4 separate regions of the Homo sapiens genome follow, and all the other regions are linked to region 1. The links are contacts of gene promoters, found by promoter capture Hi-C in blood cells and fetal thymus (Javierre and others, 2016). All regions are on one chromosome and are shown on one strand. Each heading gives the region's core, a stretch centred on a gene start or on the middle of the fragment in contact. The rest is flanking DNA. Distances are from core to core; before and after follow the strand shown.

Region 1 (6,384 bases), core at 2,924-5,423:
AACAAAAGACAGATATATAGGAAAACGGGAAAACACAACATGTCATAGACCATGGGTAACGAAGAACAGAAATAAAGCAATTTTAAAAGCTCCATGTAACTACAAACATTCCAAATGCCAACGTTAGGCGGAGCTCTGGCCAGTCCACCAGTGCTTTATGATCAACAATATTATTCTATGTAGGCTATAAACAGATCCAGGCTTTATAAACATAAAACTCCCTGTCCTCTAGTCTAAATGCACTCTGGACTAAAGAAATTAGGAAACAGAGCTCAGAATCCTAATTTCACAGGGAATTTAAACAATTACACAAACACTGATGAACAGAGAAAACATCAGCAAGTCTCCCCTCCTCCTGTCCTTCAGTCAGTGGCCCCACAATAACCCAGTTCCTTAAAGTAGGAATCCAGAAGTCATCCAAGACTTCTCTTTCACCCCCACACACCAAATCAATCACTAAGACTCTCTCAATCTAACCAATTCTATCTATTCCAATACCTTGGTTACTGCTATAGCTTCTCTCTACCTCTAGACTTATCACCTACAAACTCACCCTTCATGCTGCTAGTAGAACAATTCAATCAAGAGGCAGATATGGTCTTCTAACTCCCGGCTACAAGATTCATTGGTTTCCAACACCTACAGCTCCTTGGAAAATGGTGAATGGTCTCAAAAAGAGGGCTCTGGGACACACACTCCCACCTCCATTCTATCATTTTCATCTGTTTTACATGCTAACTTCATATCAATCATGGGCTTCACAGCTTAAAAATCAGCTTGAAAAGCACTGACTGATAGGATCAAGTCCAAACTCCTTCCAACCACACACCCACACACAGCATCTTCACGATCGGCCCCTGGCTGCCTCTCTAGCCTCAGCTCTCTGCATTGCCTGCCTCCAAAACATGTATGACTCCCACCCAGTGTGCTGTTTTTGCTTCCCTGCCTTTGCTCACATTATCTGTTCTATTCCCAAGGCTGCTCCTACTTGCCACATGGCTAAATACCCATCATCCTCAAAAACTCAGTTCAGGGACCAGCCCCTTCAGGAAAATTTCCAAGGGGTAGAATTACTTGTCTTTTTTATGTGCACCTGCCAGACCCTGTGCATCTTTCTATTGCCACAGTTAACATACTGAATTAGAGCCGGGCACGGTGGCTCACGCCTGTAATCCCAGCACTTTGGGAGGCCAAGAGGGGCAGATCACGAGGTCAGGAGTTCGAGACCAGCCTGGCCAACATGTTGAAACCCTGTCTCTACTAAAAATACAAAAAAATTAGGCGGGCAAGGTGTCAGGTGCCTGTAATCCCAGCTACTCGGGAGGCTGAGGAAGGAGAACTGCTTGAACCCGGGAGGCGGAGGATGCAGTGAGCCAAGACTGCCCCACTGTACTCCAGCCTGGGCAACAGAGTGAGACTCTGTCTCAAAAAAAAAAAAAAATAGTGAATTAAAATGATCTATTAATACATCTGACTTCCCTACTAGAGTTTTAGTTCCTTCAGGGACAGTACTCTGTATGGAATTTTTGTAGCCTCAAAGCCTGGAAAAATGCCTCAAACTTGGCAGGTAATCAATAAATGTTTGATGAGTGATTAAATTAACAGAAATTAAAGGATCATTTTTGTACATTATAGATCCCTCCTACAACAACACAAACTATTAATACTAATATAAAATTAACACTAATATAAAACTAGATTCCTCAATTTGTTTTTCAAAATGCATATGCAAATCTGAACTGAATTCCTTGGTAACTCAGTTATAAATATACCAAAATAAATATGAAGTCAATAAAATATGGTCAAGAATACATGAATGCTCACTTTATAGATAAATACAAAATACTGAAACATCAGCACATTAAATATTAATACATACAAGAAAGAAGGGGGAACTAAAATGTATTGTATTCAACATACTAATGCTTGTATTCTACTGTGCTAATAAATACATTATTTCAGCAACAAGCCTGTGGGGTATGTCTCCCCATTTCACATTTTACTTTATTGAGCCTCAGAGAAGTTAAGTGATTTGCTTAAGATCACCAAACTAATAGCAAGAACCAAAACTCAAATCCAAGTCTCTCAACTCAAATATCTGTGCTTCTTATTAGTTGTATGCACCACTCTAAAAAGGCCACCTGCCCCCATGCTGATTGCCAGGGCATATCAGACCAGTCTAGCAGGTTTTGCCCCTCATCCCCTTCCTCCCTCCGTTAGCCCAAGGACATTCCTCCTATGTTTCCCACTTATTCCAAAAGTACTTCCCCAGGCAGCCAGAGAAGGTCAAAAGCACCATAAGCCGCTCTGCTTCCCCACTAGGGCGCCAAGCTGTTTCCACCCCACTACACTTAACTCCCTAAGACAGCTAATTATTCTGAAGAGGAAGTGTTTCTTCCACATTTTTCAGTATTTTCCCTGTATTTCTCTCATAGAAGCATGACCATGAAAAAGTCTGATGCAAAAGCATATGACTGTCCATGATTCACAGCAAATTGGTACTTACTGAAGATAGGATTGCCAGTTGACTTTGTTTGCACGAACTTCTGCAGCCTTGGCAGCAATAATATTGGTGGGGACAGCAGCATCCACAGCACCTCGGATATCCATTTTGGTCATCTAAACTTCGTAATCTTGAATGTCTTTCAACAAATCTTCAATTTTGATGCAAGGTAAAAACAGAATACGAGGTGTTTCTTTTTTTTACAACTATTAATATTATGATTATGAATATCGTGATCACTTTAATCTCCCCAGGCATTCAACTCAAATATTAAATGTCCTAAGTCTGAAAGTATCATTATATTTCAAATATTGTCCACTGCTCCATAAAAGAGTTCTTTAGGCTTTTGCTTTTCTAGAAAAATTTTTTTCATTATTGGCACTAACACTGCAGTAAGATTTTTAAAGCAATCACCTAATATACTGAAATCAGAAATCATGATTAAATAGAATAGGTATAAATATGGGAAAAATTGTAAATTTATACAATTGTGGTTAACTTTTCTCATAGAGAAACAATAAGAATATGAATAGTACGGATAAGGCTAGTTTTATAAACATTTACTAAGCATCATTTTGAAGTGGCACATTAAAAATTCTAAGTCCTTTCGAAAATTACTCAAATTAAAATACACAAAGTGGGAACATAATTTCTTAGAAGACAGTGCTTTCCTTTTCAAACAAAATTCATAGTATTTGCAAAATCAAAATTCGGAGAGAAAGTTTTAGAACAAATACATATTACAATTTAGGTAAGCCAACAATGGCGGTCTGGCTGGACGACAAGAACCTACAATAATGAAATTCTATGTAATTCTCACTCCTAAACTTCCAGATACAAACGACTGATTTTAACACAAAGCAAAATACAGGTTGCCACTTGCAAAACATAAATTCACGGCCATGGCCACAAAGAAGTTAAAATCCTACCCAAAATTATATTCCGGGTTTCCAACGATCTTAATCAATTTGGAACTTAATCTCTGTATCTGAAGATTTGCTGTATAAACAACCCTGGGCAGCGCGAACGACAGGGCCCAGGAAAAAACAGGCTTCAACTGGGCCAGGCTGGAACTCTGCAGCCAAGGAGGCTCAGCCTCAGCGGCCCGTCCTGGCGTAGCTCAAGGTGTCTCTAGACAATTACCTAAGTCCCTGAACTACTCGCACCCCCAGCGATCCAGGGCCGTGGCCCAGTCCTGGAGAAGGTATACTTTTTACCCCTCCCCCTCCACTCTCCTGCCCGCCCCTGACGTTTCTTCCCCCTGCGAGAAAGGCTCCAGAATTTCGCTTAATAAACCTGGTTGAGGCCTGGAAGAAAAGCAATCTGGCAACCGGGGGCCGAAGAACAGGAGAGGACCAAGCGGCGAGACACCAGCACGCACCAGGCAAGCTGGAGAAACTGCAAGAGTCGCCTGACCTGGTCTGCAGCCTGAGACCAAACAACGCGAGGGCGGCCTTACCTCGCGAATCCTCGGGACCCCACAACGCACCCAAAGCCGGCAGGGAGGGTGGTCCGGGGCGCCGGGGACACAGCCGGGCTGGGGCGCCGCGTCAGAGCCAAGTAGGCGTCTCCTGTCAGGTCCAGAGGTCTGAGCAGTGGAGGGAGACTCCGGGAGCCGAAAGTGAAGCGGGTCCCGCACCAAGGAGACGTTGAGGGCCGCACAGGTAGAAGGAAGCCAGGGCGGCCGCAGTAGAATGACAGAGGCGCCGGTCACGTGATCGGAGGCACGTGACTGCTGCGGAAGGCGGAAGCCGGGAGACTCCAAAGCAGCAAGAGGAGGGGCGGGCGCTGCGGCGGGGCTTGTTCGGTGCGGACAACTGGATTCCCGAGTCCGTAACTTGGGCCCCGGAGCGACGCAAGGGTCGGGCCCCAGCCAGCCAGGGCAGGTGGGAGGCGGCGAGCGTGGCGGGCACGCTAAGACCCGCCGCCCCCAGACCTAGTGCCTCGCCTAGGGGAGGCCGAGGACCTCCGCCCGGAAGCAGCTAGCAGAGGCCAAAACGCTCTTATTGTAACCGTCATTCTTTTGAAAAGTTTGATTTCGCGCTTTCAAATTAATTTCCATTTGGATTTAACAGCTCCATGAAGCAGGCGTTCTTATTCTGATTTTAAATAGAAAACTCGGGCTGAGAAGTGGGTCTGAAAAGCTCTCTTAACCTAGGGTTGCACATTTAGCAAATAATAAATTCCATTGCAGTATTTACTTTTATACTAAAAAGTTATTCGTTGTTTATCTAAAATTCACATTTACAGGACGTCTGGTATTTTATCCAACAGTCCCATCTGGAGCCCAAATTTTCCCCTAGTCCAGGCCTCAGCAACTGTCTTTGCCTTAAAGTAAGAATGTACTGCCCTGGAGGTGAAGTATATATGATAGCATGTTTTCCTTAAAAAGCAATGAAAGGGGCCGGGCGCGGTGGCTCACTCCTGTAATCCCAGCACTTTGGGAGGCCGAGGCCAGTGGATCACCTGAGGTCTGGAGTTCGAGACCAGCTGACCAACATGGTGAAACCCCATCTCTACTAAAAATACAAAAAATTAGCTGGGTGTGGTGGCGCATGCCTGTAATCCCAGCTGCTTGGGAGGCTGAGGTAGGAAAATCACTTGAACCCAGGAGGCAGAGGTTGCAGTGAGCCAAGACCGCACCATTGTACTCCAGCCTGGGCAGAAAAAGCAAAACTCCGTCTCAAAAAGAAAAAAAAAAAATTCTTTGAAAGGGATTTATAACCAACCCATTTTTACTCGTAAAATTAAAGTCAGAATAATCAAAATCATGCATTGATTATGAATAAAGATATATAATAACAGTGTCAAAGATTGTACTAGGTCACTCATTCTGTCTTAGCCAGAAGTGAAAGTCTGTTGTTTTGAAAGCAAATCTAAGGGGAAAAACTTTCATAAAAGAGAAAAAGAAACCGATCGTGTACTAAGAAACTCCCAAAAGCTGAAACAGCATGTTTTCTGTGTAACTGAGCAAAGCTGGCAGTGAGGCCTGATCTTCGCATTTCCTTTCTGTATCACCTAAGCCACAGACTGGCGTGATACAGCGAGTCTCATCAGATTTCGGGAGGCTCTCCTCTTTTCCTAGAGGCACAAAGTTATGGAACAAAATCAGGAACAGTGCAGTGAGCAGAGGGGACTGCTTCACAGGCACCTGGGCTGGCGTTCTCCGAGCATCACAACATTACCAGACAATTTGCCTGGAGTAGGGAGAAGAGAAGAGGCAGGTACTCCCGGCATTATCTCTCTTAACATTATTTCTGTAACACTTCTATCGGAGATTTTTCTTGGTCCATTCAGGCTCCTGTAACAGTGCTGTAGACTGGGTGGCTTATAAACAACAGAAAGTCATTTTCTCACAGTTCTGGAGGTTGAAAGTTCAGAATTGGGGTGCTATCATGGTGAGGTTCTGGGAAGGATTGTCCCAGGTTGCAAACTGCTGTCTTCTCATTGTAGCTTCACATGGTGGAGAGGTGAGAGAGCTCTCTGGGGTCTCTTTCATAAGGACATTAATTTCATTCATGAGAGCTCCACCCTCATGACCTGATCATTTCCCAAAGGTCCCACCTCCTAATATCATCACCTTGGGAGTTAGGATTTCAACACAGGAATTTTGGGGAGACACAGACCATAGCGGTGATCTCAGTTACCTAATTATATAACATACCTGGGGTCCCCATACCCTGGGCCACAGACTGGTGTGGTCCATGGCCTGTTAGGAACCCGGCTGCACAGCAGGAGGTGAGCGGCGGGCAAGCCCCATTACCGCCTAAACTCTGCCTCCTGTCAGATCAGCAGCGGTAGTAGATTTTCACAGAAGCATGAACCCTATCGTGAACTGCACATTGCAAGGGATCTAGGTTGCACACTCTGTATGAGAATCT
Region 2 (5,772 bases), core at 2,348-4,847, 210 kb after region 1:
GATCGCACCTTCTACTTGACTGAAAAGATAAGCACATCTAATATGAGCTCCCAAGCACTCTCTTCTCTCTCCATCTCCTGTTTATATTCATCCATCCTTTCTTTCTTTTTTTTAGGGTCTCACTCTGTCACTCAGGCTGGAGTGCAGGGTGCCAACATGGCTCACTGCAGCAGCAACCTCCGGAGATCAAGTGATCCTCTCGCCTCAGCCTCTAGAGTAATTGGAACCACAGGTGCCCGCCACCTCACCCGGCCTGTCCTCTTCTATCTTGATTGAAAATGGTTTTCTCCTCTTTTAAGGCAAGCACTATACATCTCAGGACTTAATTCTATTCTATGATCCCTCTGAGAATGCCTCTATCAATTATCTTCTCTTTACTGCATCTTCTTCCTCCCTCCTTCCACTCATAGGTCTTTCTCTGATCCCACTGAAGAACAGATTTCCTACTCTTCTTCCTGTTTACCAAAACTTTTTTAAAAGGTCTATACATGTTGCCTCTGCTTCCTCATTTCCCTATCCACTTCATACAATCCTTTGCATTTTGGCTTTATCTACCCAAACATCCAAGGTCACAGGTGGCTTAATATTGGGTACTTTCTTCCTAAACTATTTCTCCTTAATCCTTCTCTGGAACACATTACACATCTCCTTCCCACTCTGAAATTCTCTCCACCCATACTCTCAACACCTAACTCCTTTTCTCATTAGGCTAAACTGTAATGTGTCCCCCAAAGTTCTATCCCTGAGCTTTTTTTCTTATAATGCTTTCTCAAGATAATTCTTCGTTGATCAATTATATTAGTAATTATTTCAAATCTCCATTTCCAGGCTTGAACTTCAGACAAGTATTTCCAATATCCTATTTTGATATTGTGGGGGCACATTGATCTCAATACATTAAACTCAGTATTATCTCCTTCCTTTACTCTAAAACTGTTTCTTGCACCTACTTTTTATGATGGCATCAGAACTAGAAATCTCAGGCCCTTTTGATACTTCCTTGGTTACTACACCCCACATAATTAATCTCTAAATCCTGCTGGATCACCTGTCTCTAGAATGTAGATCAGATCACATCTCACTTCAACCAAAAACACTGACAGCTTCCTGCTGCCTAGAGAGTAAGTCTAGTAAGTCCCTTCTCAGCACAAAGAGTCTCTGTTCCCTATGTCTTCTGTCCTATCATGCCCAGCTTTTCCTAAGACTGAATGGCTTGCTTTTCCTGTCCTATAGTTCTTTCTCTGCACATTTGCTATCCAAATCCCACCGTTTTTCAAAATCTAGCTGTTTCATCATGGTCTCAGTGCCTCCTAAGATAAAATTAATCTCTTCTCAGTTTTTCAGGGCACCTTTTGTTATTTTCCAAGGGCACTTTTTAAAGCTTCTAATACAATGTATATCACATTCTGCTATCCATACAGTTACTTAGACATGCATCTTTCTATTAAATTTTATCTTAAATTTTAATGAAAGGGAATGTTTATTATTCATCTTTGAATTATGTACAATGCTGTGTATAATAGCCAATCAGTAAATATTTGTTGAATTAAGTTGAATACACACTCATCTAATGACTGCTAACTTATGACTCAATATGAATTAACTCATTTAAATCCCCAAGCATTCAAATGTTACTTTTCTTGAAAATATCACATGAAAAAAGTTACAAATATGGCGCTGATCACTGCTTCTAGACACCTACCTGTTGACACGAACTGTGCATCATACCTTCATAGGTTTTAAAGGTCACATTGGCTGGATTCACCAATGTTTTTAGTTTTTCCACCGTAAGAGAACCAAACATCAGGGGAACCAAAGGGTCACAATCCCCGTGGCACTGGAGAATAGAAATATCTCTATTAGCACCACCGATAGGACCCTGCAAAAAGCAAAAGAAGAAATAGTTTTATTTTTGTAAAAGTATAGGACACTATGCCAGGCATTTAAAATTGTACATAAATATGCATATATATAACATATTAGAAGTTACATTTGGCCAAAAAAATAAAATTCCTTCATCCATATACTCACCACATCCCTTTGACTTCTATAGGATGTATGATCACCTTGCCTCATATTATAATATATATCTTCCCAGTGAATGAGTTCCTTGAAGCAGATTATATATACATTTTTTTGTTTCGTTTAGTTTTTTTGAGACGGAGTCTTGCTCTGTTGCCCAGGCTGGAGTGCAGTGGCGTGATCTCAGCTCACTGCAACCTCTGCCTCCCAGGTTCAAGCAATTCTCCTGCCTCAGCCTCCCAAGTAGCTGGGATTACAGGCACGTGCCACCACGCCCAGCTAATTTTTTTGTATTTTTTAGTAGAGACAGGGTTTCACTGTGTTACCCAGGATGGTCTCAATCTCCTGACCTTGTGATCCACCTGCCTTGGCCTCCGAAAGTGCTGGGATTACAGGCGTGAGCCACTGCACCCAGCCAAGCAGATTATATTTTAATCCATCTTTATATTTTCAGCTTTTTTTTGTTTGTTTGGTTGGTTGTTTTAGTATTTTGAGTTGCTGTTTTATTCAGCTATCTTTTTTTTTTTTTTTCCCCCAAAGACAGAGTCTTGCTCTGTTACCCAGGCTGGAGTGAAGTGGCACAATCGTGGCTCACTGCAACTTCCACCTCCTGGGTTCAAGTGATTCTCATGCCTCAGCCTCCTGAGTAGCTGGGATTATAGGTGTGCACCACGACGCCCAGCTAATTTCTGTATTTTTAGTAGCCATGGGGTTTCACCATGTTGGCCAGGCTGGTCTTGAACTCCTGACCTGAGGTAATCCACCCGCCTCAGCCTCCCAAAGTGCTGGGATTACAGGCATGAGCCACCGCACCTGGTCTAAAAATAAGTATGATTTCTATATGTTAAAAAAAGTCCTAATTTTCATATATATCCTAAAATGTATCAAATCCTTCTAATATAAGATTTGTGACAATAAGGTTTCTTTCTAATTCCATTCTATGTACTCCACAATACAGACAGTATAGCGTACAGAAATAAGGCCTAGTAATACATCACAAAAGTCTAAGAAAATTATTTTTAAAAAAGGATGAGTGCTGTAAGTGGAGGACTTGGTGATGGTGATGTGTCAGTGCAGCATTACTGACTGCAGCAAAAACATGGCTGTGGAGGTGGGGATGCTGATGGTGGGGAGGCTGTGCATGTGTGGGGACAGGAGGTAGATAGTAACTCTGTACCTTCTGCTCAGTTTTGCTGTGAATTTAGAACTTCTCCAAAAAATAAAGTTTATTAATAAAAAAAAATAAGATGACTTTATCTCCAACAATATCTACTAGCTACCTTTAGCTCAGTAATCTCATGTTGAGTGCATCAACCAAGTTACCTGTGGAAAGGAAGCCCGAAGTGGAAGCCAGCAACTGAGTGCAGTGACACCTGCCAGTTTCTGCTGTGTGGTAAGGGCAGTATATAAAGATAAAGCTCCTCCCTGAAAAGACAAGCAGGGAAAGTCAATGGAACACACATGCTTGCCCACAGCAATTTAGGGAATATCTTGTTACTAATGATATCCATAAAAAAATCAAACTTGGTGGCTGGTGTCAAATCAAATCAGGCAAATATCGGAAATACAAACACACCCCACCGTGTCCTAAAGGATGCGGTTCTCTACACCAGAGAACATACAGACTTCCTTTCCGACGAGACATAGTTTGTACCATGGGAAACTGCTGCACTTACAACATGCCTTACGAATATTCTGAATTTATATTTTCTCCTTTGCAGAATTTTAGGCATAAAATCCAATCTGCTCTTAAATTGGTATTACTTTTTTTTTTTTTTTTGAGATGGAGTTTCACTCTTGTTGCCCAGGCTGGAGAGTAATGGTGCAATCTTGGCTCACCACAACCTCCGCCTCCTGAGTTCAAGCGATTCTCCTGCCTCAGCCTCCCGAGTAGCTGGGATTACAGGCATGCACCACCACACCCGGCTAATTTTGTATTTTTGGTAGAGACGGGGTTTCTCCATGTTGGTTAGGCTGGTCTCAAACTCCCGACCTCAGGTGATCCACGCGCCTCAGCCTCCCAAAGTGTTGGGATTACAGGTGTGAGCCACCGTGCCTGGCCCTTAAATTGGTATTACTTTCTAAATGAGAATTTAAGATAATAATAACTATTTAGCAGACACCTTCAGAGTATCTGCCTACCCAGCTCACAACATCCCACATTCTGGAAGCTGTACTCCTGCCAGCATCCAGAAGCCCCATCACTCTGACCATGCCCATGGGTTACTGCAACACATGAGTACACGAGAGCCTTTCACATCCCAGGCAGTGATGTTTTCTCCTGGCACTGTGGAAATGGGATTCGATGACCACCAGTCACTCTCTGTGTGGCTACACCTGTAACATGTAAATTCAAGAGCTGGAAAAGCTATAGGCTGCAAAAGCCAAGATGGCCAATTGTTTATGGAAAGGTAAATGAAACAGACAAGCAAAGAAACAAGAGATGAGAGATGGTGAGCAAGGCCCAACTGCTTTTCAATTTCTAGCTACTTCCTGAGGCCTTGCCTCATTTTCCTCCTCAGTTTCCTTGATAGGATGCCACAGACTCATTGCTTACTCCTTGCTTGAGGTATTGAGTTGGTTTCTATATACTGTAATGAATGAATATCAAATATACAGACTCCCACATGAACTTGTTATTCTGGATCATTATTATTATTATTTTTGAGACAGAGTCTCAGCTCTGTTGCCCAGGCTGGAGTATAGTGGTGCGATCTTGGCTCACTGCAACCTCTGGCTCCTGGGTTCAAGTGATTTTCCTGCTTCAGCCTCCGGAGTAGCTGGAGTTACAGAGGCGTGCACCACTATGCCCGGCTAATTTTTGTATTTTTAGTAGAGACAGGGTTTCACCATGTTGGCTGGGCTGGTCTCGAACTCCTGACCTCAAGTGATCCACCCACCTTGGCCTCCCAAAGTGCTGGGATTACAGGCGTGAGCCACCGTGCCTGGCCTGGATCATTAATTTCTGTCCCTATGTTTATGTCACAATGTGTATTACAATATACATTATCTGTGAATTTCAACAAACACCAAATCAGTAACACCTTTTCACTATATTGTATCAACAAATCTTTCTACTGAATTCTATCTTCTAAATAATTTCAGAATTCTGACATCTCCCTAATTAAGGTAATCCAAACATCTCCCTAATTAAGGTAATCCAAACACTAAGTTGCTAACTTAGAAGATTTACAGATGATAAGTTAGAGCATCTGGGGACTGGTTCCATGGCAAACAGCTTATATGCCGCAGTAGCCATGAAAGAAAGGTCCGTATGAGGAAGCTACGTCTGTGGAGGGAGTACAGAAAGCAGGGGAAAAAGTACAGAGACAAAGAAAAATGCCAAAAATAAACACCACATATTCATACCTAAAACCTGTAATACGTGAAGGTAAAGGGAAGAAATTCTCTTGTCTTCCACTTTACTGTTCCTATCAGTAGTCTCCTCCTATAGAGGGGACTCATGCCTGTGTTATCAGTTTTAATTAATTAAAAGGATAAACTGTGTTAACTTAGAAATTTAATTACATGTGTACATGTGTATTATAGTTCTTTCAAGAAGAAATTAATTAGTTCCAGTACACTGAAACTTAATTAAACATCAAAGGTAAGTGTATCAGTCAAGATTCTATAACATCAAAAAAGACTACTCTATAGAAAGGATTAATGCACAGACTTCTAAATAAGTATACTGATGGTACTGACATTCCACTCAAATTTTATCTTACCTGAGAAAACCCTCCCAAAATA
Region 3 (5,808 bases), core at 854-3,353, 150 kb after region 1:
AAACTATATCCAACTGGATAGCAGAATCACCTAGGGAGCTTTTAAACATATCCTCATGCCAAGCTCCGAACCAGATCCATTCAATCCAAATCTCTGGCAGTGAGGCGCAAGCATCATTATTTTTTAAAGTTCCTTAGACAACTCTAATATATAGTTGTCTGGATGAGAATCACTGATAAGAGAATGGTTGAAATCACAACTGTAGAACTCATCTTGTAAAGTTGAAGTTTGTCAAACCTAAAACACAATTCAAGCCCTCTGATAAAACACGCACATACACTTTAGTCTTCACATAATTTTACTGCTCCTTGTTATTCTCAATAATTTCCTTGAAGGCTCAAATCCCAAAGATGCTATAGTACTGTAACACTGAAAACAAAGATTAATAATGACACATGGCAAGGACTAAGAAATGGTCCAAAAGTAATAGGGTAGAAAGCATTTAAAAGGGAAAACTGATATAACAATGAAATATGATCCAGCAAGGATCCAATGCTGCCAAAGGGACAGCAGAACTATCTCACACACTGCTCTGGCACAGTGAATTAGTACAATCCTTTTAGACAGCAGAGCAGTAAGAGGCATGAACAGCCTCAGAAGCATTCCTACTATCTGATACGGTGTTGTGGGCAACACAGTCCAGCTAGCTGGGAAGGAGGTGCTCCAGCTCTGGACTCCAGCTGTCTGCAATCAAGTCCCAGCTTGGCTATTCACCACTGATTCAACTGTGTGCAAGGTATTTAACCGCTCAGTGCCTCAGATTCCTCATCATAAAATGGAGATTATAATAGCACCTACCAAATTGGATTGTTGTGAGGATTAAATGCATTAATACAGGTCAATGCTTGGCACATCTTAAGTACTCAACAATGTGCTACCTAGTAGCAGTAGTAGTAAATGTAGAAATCTAGCTAACAATGTAAAGAAAAAGCTTTAGGCAGAAAGATATCCATCAAGACATTAGTTACAACCACCATAAAGTTAAAAACAAGAAATCTAACAACTGGCAAGTGATCAACTAAAATATGGTATAGTCAACTGAATAAATCATTCTGAAACCAATAAAAATAATAGTTATGATAGAAAAACAAACTATTTTCATTAAAAAAGGTAATATAAATTAAGTACACACACAGCATAGGTAAAATTATAGTAGGGGTAAAATTTATGCAAATTAAATTTGAATAGTAATGTATTACAATCCATTATACAGAAAAGGAACCTGCGAGTCTACACTAATGGATAACTAGCTAAGGGGTAAAAAGAAGGTTGTCTTTTTTTTTTTTTTTAGACAGACTCTCACTCTGTTGCCCAGGCTGGAGTTCAGTGGCGCGATCTCGGCTCAGTGCAAGCTCCGCCTCCCGGGTTCACGCCATTCTCCTGCCTCAGCCTCTCGAGTAGCAGTAGCTGGGACTACAGGTGCTCACCATCACACTCAGCTAATTTTTTTGTATTTTTTTAGTAGAGATGGGGTTTCACCGTGTTAGCCAGGATGGTCTCGATCTCCTGACCTCGTGATCTGCCTGCCTCAGCCTCCCAAAGTGCTGAGATTACAGGCGTGAGCCACCATGCCTGGCCAGAAGGTTCTTCTTCTAACAGAATGATGATTTTATAAGTATTGAAGCAGAGGAGTCAGAAAAATCACAATTTTGCAACTACTACTACAAAGATTGGTTTGAGCAAAAAATCAATGGATCCTAAATTGGGAGGGGAGGAAAAAGATTTGTTAAGGTGTAAGACAGTTTCAGGATCTTAAAAGTGTCTCCCACAGAATGGCTATTAGCTACAAGAGGAAAAACAATACACTATACAGTGTGGCTTTGACTAGATTCTCAAAATTACTATCAATCACTCTGGATATGATACCTTGAGAAGGACATAACATGCTTAAACAGTATTCCAACTGGGGATGTACAACCTGATCTAATCATGAGAAAAAAGCAGGTACACCTCAAATAAGGAATATGCTATTAAAAACAAAGGAGGGGCCAAGCGCGATGGCTCACGCCTATAAACCTAACACTTTGGGAGGCCAAGGCAGGTTGGATCGCTTGAGCCCAAGAGTCCAAGACCAGCCTTAGCAACATAGTGAGACTCTGTCTCAAATTAGTAAATAAATAACAAAGGAGGGCAGTGGCGGATGCTTGCAATTCCAGCTACTCAGGAGTCTGATGTGAAAGACTGCTTGAACCCAGGAGTTGGAGGTTAGCCTAGGCAACATAGCAAGACCCCTATTTCAACACAAAACAAAAAAAGTGGTGGGAAAGGGGGTGGATAGGGGAATAAACCTGCTTCAAGGATACAACTTAAAAATGTGGGAAATTCTGCCTTGAATATATTTCCTAGTTTACTTTTAAACCAAAATCCAATTCCACTTTGCATTCATTACAATTGGTCATTTTCTGCATATTGTATAACATATCCAAGTTCTATTTTTTAAGCCCATTATGAATTTGATAAAAATCTGATTTGCATGAAAGTATTTTAAAATACACATTAATGATGGTTACATGAATGTATATGTAAGATAAAATTGCTCAGAAGGATACATGCCCCCACACATACACTAGCGCCAGTAAAAACTGATGAAATCTGAATAAGGTCTGTAGACTGTATCACTGTCAATTTCCTGGTTGAGATTCTGTATATGAGAGTTATGTGATATTGCCATAGGAGGAAGCTGGATAAAGGGTACATGAGACCTTTCTGTACTTTTTTTTTGTGGTAATTTTCTGTGAGTCACTTATTATGTCAAAATAAAAAGTTAAACTCCACATATTCAGGAGGCATACATACTTTCTTCTATAGGAAATGACCTTGTTTCTTTTAGCCCTACTTGAGGCAGGGGACCAGGAATGAGGGGGAAGGGACAGGATATATACACACACACACATAAAATTTTAAAGCATGGCCCACAACAGTAATTTTTTTTATTGGGTTTGTGCAATTAATGTGAAAGACAAAATTGCGTTTAATTTTCTTTCCTTCCAAATTTGACTTTCAGGAAATATATCAACAAAAAATTGACAGCCCCAAAATAAAATTTAAGGTGAGGGAATTCATATTTGTTGGGCTAGGACCCTATGTACATTTCCTACACAGGTGATAATTGATAGTGAAAGATCACAGACCAAAAACAAAGAAAAAGTAAAATCATGAACCTAAGTAAACAGGTTGGTCTTCAAATGAGAAAGGAACATTTCTGCCTTGGGGGGAAAACAAAGGAGAAGGGATACCTGTATTCTTCAAAATGTCAATTTCATAAAAGATAAAGAAAAGCTTAAGAATGATTTCAAATTAGAAAACTAGCTATGTGAGGCCAGGCGAGGTGGCTCACGCCTGTAATCCCAGCACTTTGGGAGGCCAAGGCGGGCAGATCACAAGGTCAGGTGATCGAGACCACCCTGGCTAACACGGTGAAACCTCGTCTCTACTAAAAATACAAAAAATTAGCTGGGCGTGGTGGCGGCCACCTGTAGTCCCAGCTACTCGGGAGGCTGAGGCAGAATGGCATGAACCCAGGAGGCGGAGCTTGCAGTGAGCCGAGATTGCACCACTGCACTCCAGCCTGGGCAACAGAGTGAGACTCAGTCTCAAAAAAAAAAAAAAAAAAAAAAGAAAGAAAACTAGCTATGTGATCCTGAAGTGGATCTTTTCCTGAAGGTAGAAAAACAAAAGAACTATAAAAAAACATTATTGGGACAACTGACAAACCTGAACATAAACCATAAAATACTATACCAATGTTAAATTTCCTATATTTCTTATACTATGATTCCATAAAAAAATAAGATTGTAGTAAGGAAATACACGCAAGTATTTAAAGGGTAAAAGAGCATGATATATTCAACCTACTTTCAAATGGTTCCGAAAAAAATAATTTGTGTGTGTGCAAATAGAGAAAGAAAAAGAGAGAATATGATAAAACAAATATGGCAAATATTAAAAATTGATGATATGGATAAAGGATACGGCATTCTTTTAATCATCCTTGCAAGTTTTCTGTAAGTCAAAAAATTTCAAAAACCATTTCAAAAGGTATCCACAACCTTTCCTTTAAGAGAAAATTCTTCTTACTGAAAGAGTTTATCCAGTTGTGTCAAAAGTTAAGAAAGCCAAATTTGACTGGCCTAAAAGGCAAAAAAACCCTAAAGATCAAATTAACTCCCCTCGCCTTTATTACGAGGCACTGCTTTCAGTATATCTAGATTCACTAAGAAAAAAATGTAACCATTAACTAACCATAAAATGTAACCATTAACTATTTGAATAAATCACAACATCATAAATATATGTAAGGGAAGATCAATGATACCTAATAATTTTTTCCAGGATTTGATGAGAGACTTTGCCAAAGATGTAACTTCCTCATCTGTACTCTGCTTGCGAATAGCATTAACTGACATTCCGATTCTTGTGGACTGCAAGGCAATAACAAAAAAATTATGTATACCAATTTTATTTTAAACAAATTAGTATTTCACCTACATTCTTTTCTTTCCCAGATTCCTGTTTCTATTTTAGAATTTCAAAACTTCAATTTTTGGATCCTTATAATAGCAAATTATATTAAGATACATACATCTTCAGATCAAACACTAGACTCATTAATGTTCTTATCATCAAGATCTAGAAGCATAAAATTCACTACTGTAATAAGTCTGGTTAACTAGAAAAATGCAATCAATCTTTCCACAAGGGAGAAGTGAAGATAAACGAGGATAAAATATATAATGTTGTATATAAGTCAGGCTGAAGCAATCATGACTAATACATGCATTTCTTTGTTTCTATACATTCCTCTACATGGATTACTTCATAGAGCACCAGCTGCAAATTATTATGAGGATATCCAAACAAAAACTACCACCTATCCAGGTTTAAAAGGCTTTATTTTGCCAGGAACCAGCATATAATCAGAGACATTAAAATGCACTTCACAAAATACAGGTAAAATTTAACCTGTGATAATTACGTGCCTAGAATTATGCTTAGAGCATCCACATTCATCAATCTTTCTAACAACCCTTCAAAGTTGAGATCATCCCTATTTTTAAAGATGAAGAGATTGGAAGTACCAATAAATAACGTGCCCAGCATCACACCATTACCAACCAGCAAAGCTGGGATTTTTTTTTTTTTTTTTTGAGACGGACTCTCACTCTGTCACCCAGGCTGGAGTGCAGTGGGGCACGATATTGGCTCACTGCAACCTCCACCTCCTGGTTCAAGCAATTCTCCTGCCTCAGCCTCCCGAGTAGCTGGGATTACAGGCACATGCCACCTCGCCCGGCTGATTTGTGTATTTTTAGTAGAGACGGACTGCACCACGTTGGCCAGGCTGGTCTCAAACTCTAGACCTCAGGTGATCCACACACCTCAGCCTCCAAAGTGCTGGGATTACAAGCATGAGCCACCGGCCCAGCCAAAAACTGGGATTTTAATCCAGGTTTGTTCACTGCCGAAGTCCATGGTCTTTGTAGCACATTAATGGTTTCAAATTGTGCTCAAAGAACACAAAAGCTATGACAGCCCAAATATGGATGATAAATAAAAAATGGTATATTATTTAGTAAGTTCGGGTTGTTAACAGACAATATTTCAAACATATGGTCTATGGAAGAAAAAAATAACAAAAGGAATTCTTAGTGGTGAAAAAAAAGAGACACCCTATTGTAAGCTTTACGGTAGAAAAATATACGGGTACTTGAGGTTTCCTTCTAAATTATTCAATCCTCTCAACAAACAGATTCAGGATCTAAGTTTTATTCAAGAATTTAGAATATGTGGTTGGCTAGAGTGTCCTAT
Region 4 (5,729 bases), core at 165-2,664, 170 kb after region 1:
TACTCAGGAGACTGAGGCAGAGAGCTGCTTGAACCCAGGAAGTGGAGGTTGCAGTGAGCCGAGATCGCGCCACTGCACTCCAGCCTGGGCGACAGAGCGAGACTCCGTCTCAAAAAAACAAAAAACAAAACAAAAAAAAGAAATGTTAATGTCTGGTTGCTGAAGTGCCCAAATCCTGCTGGGGGTATTATGTAATATATGATGTATATACCAAATTATCTTTATCAAATCTGAAAAATCTGGAATTACCAAATATATCAGACCCTAAGGGTTTTGATTAACAAACTCTAGAAGTCTGGACAACACAGCATGACCCCCTCTCTACAAAAAATAAAGATAAAAAATTAGCTGGCCATAGTGCCTGTAGTCCTAGCTACTCCAGAAGCTGAGGCGGGAGGACTGCTCGAGCCCAGAAGCTTGAGATTACATGAACCATGATCGTGCCACGGCAGTCTAGCCTGTGTGGACAGAGTGAGACTCCATTTCTAAAATAAAAATTAAAAAACGACGACGACAAAAAAAAAAAAAAAAAAAAAAGATTGTGGGCCTGTATTCTCCATTTACCATTGACATTTTTCTTCTATCCACATTTCCAGGATTTCTGATCCACTTCTGACCAAGAATCTCTTAATAAGGGTAAAGAATCACACTTCTAGAAGTTCCTTAAAAAGCAGGGTTTCCTAAGTATTAAGTTGATTCTTCCAACATATCAGCAATGAGACATACAGTTTAAATTGTTTTCCAAGTAGAGGCAATATATTTGCATTAATTTTGTTACTTTCCTTTTCTACTCAGCTCTCTGGTGAGGCCATGGTTGGAATAAAAAGCTAAAAGTAACACTCACGGAATAAAACTATGACCTTTCTGAAAACTGCACTGTGTTCCAACTAATTCAAATAAATATTTCACTGAAGGGTCTTTAAGAAATAACTATGGGCTGGGCACGGTGGCTTATGCATGTGGCTCACACCTGTAATCCTAGCACTTTGGGAGACCGAGGTGGGAGGATCAACCTGAGCTCAGGAGTTCGAGACCAGCCTGGCCAACATGGTGAAACTCCATCTCTACTAAAAATACAAAAATTAGCGGGGCGTGGTGGCGGGCACCTGTAATCCCACAGCTACTCAGGAGGCTGAGGCAGGAGAATCACTTGAACCCAGGAGGCGGAGGTTGCAGTGAGCCGAGATCGTGCCACTGCACTCCAACCTGGACGATAGAGCAAAACTCCATCTCAAAAAAAAAAAAAAAAAAAAAACAAAAAACAGACAAACAAAAAGAAATAACTATGATGATCTGAATGAGTGAAATGCAAAACAGATAATCATACATTAATTCGGTGACAACAAACTTTGAGTGCTGCTATGTGCTTGGCATTGTTAAATACTTCACATAGATTTAATTCCACCTTCACCATAAACCCTATAGAAGCAGGTATTATCTCCATTTTACAGATGAGGAAATATGTCAAGAAACTTGCACAAGGTTCTATGATTACTAACTAGAAAAGGTAAGATCTACTCCAGTAATGTCAAATGTACCAAGCTCTACTGTACTGGGGATACAGCAGTGAGCAAGACTGAAACCCTTTCTGACATCAGGGAATTTTAAAACAAACAGAAATCTTTAATCATCTATTTCAAACCCTTAACTACACACAAAAAAAAGAAACTTAAACCCAGAAAAGAAAAGTGACTTGCCCAAGGTCATACTGACGGGTAGTAAGGTCATGAACTAGTCGCCTGACCCTTATACTGCTGCCCTTTCCCCAGCAGTGCGCCAGTGGCAGCACTCCTTTGTGAATTCAGATGACTAGTATCACCAAACAAGAAGCTGTATTTTAGCCTTCCCCAAGCATCACCTAGCTCTAAATGTCAAGCCTAGGCCAGGCACAATGGCTCAGCCTGTAATCCCAGCACTCTGGGAGGCCTAAGGCAGGAGGATCACTTGAGCCCAGGGGTTCGAGACCAGCCTGGATAACAGAATGAGATCCCACCTCTATTTAAAAAAAAAGAAAAGAAAAGAATACATGTCCAAGTCTATGAGATTGTAGCATCTCCTACAGATGATGCAAGAGAAAGAAAGACTCTTCTTTAATTTCCAGAGCCAAATTTAGTTCACACTACTGGCTGAAAGATAAACTACAGCTATCACACTATTTTATTACATTGTTGGTGCTCCTATCTGGTAATAGAAAACAAGTGATTTTATAAACCATGATACTTGTACTATGTGCTCAGTATACTCAAGACCATGTAGGATACGAACATCCCTCTCCTCAAGGAGATGTAAAAAGGAGGGAGTAATAGGGATTTATAGTTAAGAATATGGTGTACATATATGACAGATTTAGATTCAAATCCATGCTCTGACATTTGCTAACTACAAGATCTGGGTAATGTTATTTGTCCTTTTCAAGCTTCAGCTTCTTTATACGTAGGTGAGCATAACACACCAACCTTGAGTAGTTAAAACAGCCAAATGAGGCAACATTACACAGATAAAGTATCAAAATAGAGGGTCTGACACATAGCATGGTTGATGAGGAGTACAAAAATATACAAATAATTACTTATTTCTACCATAACAATAATCTCCAGGGGCCATAAGCCAGCATTTTCAGTGATCATATTTAAGCTCAATCAAGTAAAACAGTTACTTCTTCTATAATAATGTCTTCTTCATAGGCATTATTATAAGATTTCAAGGTTAAAGAATTAAGATATTATCCATTTTTTTTTTTTTGAGACAGTCTCACTGTGTCGCCCAGGCTGGAGTGCAGTGGCGTGATCTCAGTTCGCTGCAACCTCTACCTCCTGGGTTCAAGCGATTATCCTGCCTCAGCCTCCCAAGCAGCTGGGACTACAGGCGCCCACCACCACGCCCAACTAATTTTTGTATTTTCAGTAGAGATGGGGTTTCACTATGTTAGCCAGGCTGGTCTTGAACTCCTGACCTCGTGATCTGCCCACCTCAGCCTCCCAAAGTGCTGGGATTACAGGTGTGACCCACCATGCCTGGCCCATTATCTATTTTCTTAAACAATGAATTATAGATATTTGAGTTGTAGCTCAATAACATCACTATAAAGCTAGGACTTATGATATTACTATGTCATCTCAAATTTGCAGTTAAACTACACCAAAAGCACAAGCAACAAAAGAAAAATATATATAAATTCATCTTCATCAAAATTAGAATATTTTATACTTCAAAGGCCACAACCAAGAGCAGACAGACAACCCACAGAATGGGAGACAGTATCAGCATATCTAACAAGGTTCTAGTATTCAGAATATAAAGAACTCTTACAACTCAATAATAAAAAGACAACCCAATTTAAAAATGGACTAATCCAATTTGTACTCCAGCCTGGGCAACATAGCCAGACCCTGACTCTTTTCTAAAAAATGGGCAAAGGATCTGAATAGACATTTATTTCTCCATAGAAGATATGCAAATGGCCACAAAGCAATGAAAAGATGCTCAACATTGTTAATCACAAGGGACATGCAAATCAAACCCACAATGAAATACCACTTTACACCCACTAGGAAGGCTATAATCAAGACAAATGATATTGGTGAAAATGAGGTGAAACTGGAATCCTCACACACTGCTAGTTGGAATGTAAAATGGTGCAGCCACACTGGAAAGGTCTGGCAGTTCCTCAAAAGGTTAAACATAGTTACTATATGACCCAGTAATTATTCTCCGAGGTATACACCCAACAGAAATGAAAACATATGTCGCCAGGCGCGGTGGCTCACGCCTGTAATCCCGGCACTTTAGGAGGCCGAGGCGGGCAGATCATGAAGTCAGGAGATCGAGACCATCCTGGCTAATACAGTGAAACCCAGTCTCTACTAAAAATACAATAGCCGGGCATGGTGCTGGGTGCCTGTAGCCCCAGCTACTCGGGAGGCTGAGGCAGGAGAATGGTGGGAACCCGGGAGGCGGAGCTTACAGTGAGCCATCACACCACTGCACTCCAGCCGGGGTGACAGAGCGAGACACTTGTACAGCAATGTTTTTAACAGTATTATTCACAACAGCCAAAAAGCTGAAACAGCCCAAATGTCCACCAAATGATGAATGAATAAGCAAATCGTGGTTGGGTGCAGTGGCTCACATCTGTAATCCCAGCACTTTGGGAGGCTGAAGCGGGTAGATCACCTGAGATCAGGAGTTCTAGACCAGCTTGGCCGACATGGTGAAACCCTGTCTCTACTAAAAATACAAAAATCAGGCCAGGCGGTGTGGCTCACGCGTGGAAATCCCAGCACTTTGGGAGGCCAAGACAGGCGGATTATGAGGTCAGGAGTTTGAGACCGGCCTGGCCAATATGGTGAAACCCCATCTCTACTAAAAATACAAAAATTAGCCGGGTGTGGTGGTGCGCGCCTATAGTCCCAGCTACTCGGGAGGCTGAGACAGGAGAACTGCTTGAACCTGGGAGGCGGAGGTTGCAGTGAGCCGAGATCGCGCCACTGCACTCCAGCCTGAGCGACAGAGCAAGATGAGACTCCGTCTCAAAAAAAAAAAAAAAAAAAAAAGACTATACTAAGCAAAAGAGGCCAGTTACAAAAGACCACATACTGTATAATTTCACTGACAGAAAATTTCCAGATTTGGCAAACACACAGACAGAAAGTATATTAGTGGCTGTCAGAGGCGTGTGAGAAATTGGTGGGGGCAAATGAGGGCTGAATGAGGAGTGACTGCTTAATAGGTACAGGGTTTCTTTTTGGAGTGATGAAAATGTTCTAAAATTATACAGTAGTAATAGTTGCACAAACCCGTAAATACACTAAAAGCCACTGAATTAACAGTTGACCCTCAAATAACATGGGTTTAAACTGCACAGATTCACCTGAGAATTTTCTTTCACCTCTGCAACCCTAGATGACAAAACCAACTCTTCCTTTCTCCTCAGCTTATTCAATGTGAAGACAAAGAGGATGAAGACCTTTACGACGACACATTTCCACTTCATGAACAGTAAACATATTTTCTCTCCTTTATTTCTTTTCTTTTCTTTTTTGAGACATTGTCTCGCTCTGTCACCCAGGCTAAGTGCCTATAATCCCAACATTTTGGGAGGCCAAGGCAGGCAGATCACTTGAGTTCAGGAGTTCTAGATCAGCCTGGGCAATATGGTGAAACCCCATCTCTATAAAAAATACCCAAAAAAGGCTGGGCTCAGTGGCTCACGCCTGTAATCCCAGCAATTTGGGAGGCCGAGGCAGGTGAATCACTTGAGGTCAGGATGTGGAGACCAGCCTGAGAAAAATGGTAAAATCCCATCTCTACTAAAAATACAAAATTAGTTGGGTGTGGTGGCACGCACTTGTAGTCCCAGCTACTCGGGAAGCTGAGGTGGGAGAGCTGCTTAAACCCAGGAGGCGGAGGTTGCAGTGAGCCAAGATCATGCCACCACACTCCAGCCTGAGTGACATGACTGCATGAGTTATACTACTACAAAAGTTATACTACTTGACTGCATGCGGGTAGGGAGGGGGGATAGTGTGAGCACCACAACCCTTGCATTGTTCAAGAGTCAACTACACTTTAAGAATGAATTTAATTCTATTTCTCGATAAAGCTGTTATTAAAAATTGTATAGTCATTCTAAATTTTGAATTATGCTAATTAATCTAACTCTGATATAGATATCAAAGTTTTGTTGCAGTTGTTATTTTAACTGAGGTACTTGGAAATGTAAATCAATA

Evidence for each region. Contacts are between HindIII fragments. The CHiCAGO score rates a contact against its expected background, and 5 or more counts as called.
Region 2: a contact is called between a fragment that was not itself captured here and the fragment with the promoter of ATP6V1H in region 1, in 4 of 17 cell types (neutrophils, M1 macrophages, M2 macrophages and 1 more). The highest score is 6.6, in neutrophils.
Region 3: a fragment that was not itself captured here is called in contact with the fragment with the promoter of ATP6V1H in region 1 in 6 of 17 cell types (M1 macrophages, M0 macrophages, M2 macrophages and 3 more); the score reaches 7.9 in M1 macrophages.
Region 4: a fragment that was not itself captured here is called in contact with the fragment with the promoter of ATP6V1H in region 1 in 11 of 17 cell types (M0 macrophages, M2 macrophages, M1 macrophages and 8 more); the score reaches 11.6 in M0 macrophages.

The regions. Positions count from the first base shown.
Region 1 is chr8:53,839,072-53,845,455 of GRCh38, forward strand. It overlaps ATP6V1H (ATPase H+ transporting V1 subunit H), which reads right to left and starts at 4,174. Exons shown (of 14, transcript NM_015941.4): 1 at 3,963-4,174; 2 at 2,507-2,654. The coding sequence starts at 2,619. RefSeq lists enhancers at 4,123-4,262, 5,560-5,609 and a silencer at 4,333-4,482. The HindIII fragment of the contact is 7,596 bases long and covers 1-6,384 here.
Region 2 is chr8:54,049,310-54,055,081 of GRCh38, forward strand. LYPLA1-TCEA1 (LYPLA1-TCEA1 readthrough) reads right to left here. Exons shown (of 21, transcript NM_001425842.1): 6 at 5,751-5,772; 7 at 3,346-3,447; 8 at 1,703-1,879. It overlaps LYPLA1 (lysophospholipase 1), which reads right to left. Exons shown (of 9, transcript NM_006330.4): 6 at 5,751-5,772; 7 at 3,346-3,447; 8 at 1,703-1,879. It overlaps LOC133039971 (Uncharacterized LOC133039971), which reads left to right. Exons shown (of 3, transcript NR_189620.1): 3 at 1-1,467. Among named protein-coding and RNA genes, the nearest start is that of TCEA1, 30 kb to the left of the region's middle. The HindIII fragment of the contact is 4,437 bases long and covers 1,380-5,772 here.
Region 3 is chr8:53,995,630-54,001,437 of GRCh38, forward strand. LYPLA1-TCEA1 (LYPLA1-TCEA1 readthrough) reads right to left here. Exons shown (of 21, transcript NM_001425842.1): 14 at 4,316-4,421. It overlaps TCEA1 (transcription elongation factor A1), which reads right to left. Exons shown (of 10, transcript NM_006756.4): 3 at 4,316-4,421. Among named protein-coding and RNA genes, the nearest start is that of TCEA1, 24 kb to the right of the region's middle. The HindIII fragment of the contact is 2,348 bases long and covers 930-3,277 here.
Region 4 is chr8:54,012,448-54,018,176 of GRCh38, forward strand. All of the region lies in intron 12 of LYPLA1-TCEA1 (LYPLA1-TCEA1 readthrough), which reads right to left. The region is part of intron 1 of TCEA1 (transcription elongation factor A1); the gene reads right to left. Among named protein-coding and RNA genes, the nearest start is that of TCEA1, 7.1 kb to the right of the region's middle. RefSeq lists a silencer at 15-114. The HindIII fragment of the contact is 2,000 bases long and covers 415-2,414 here.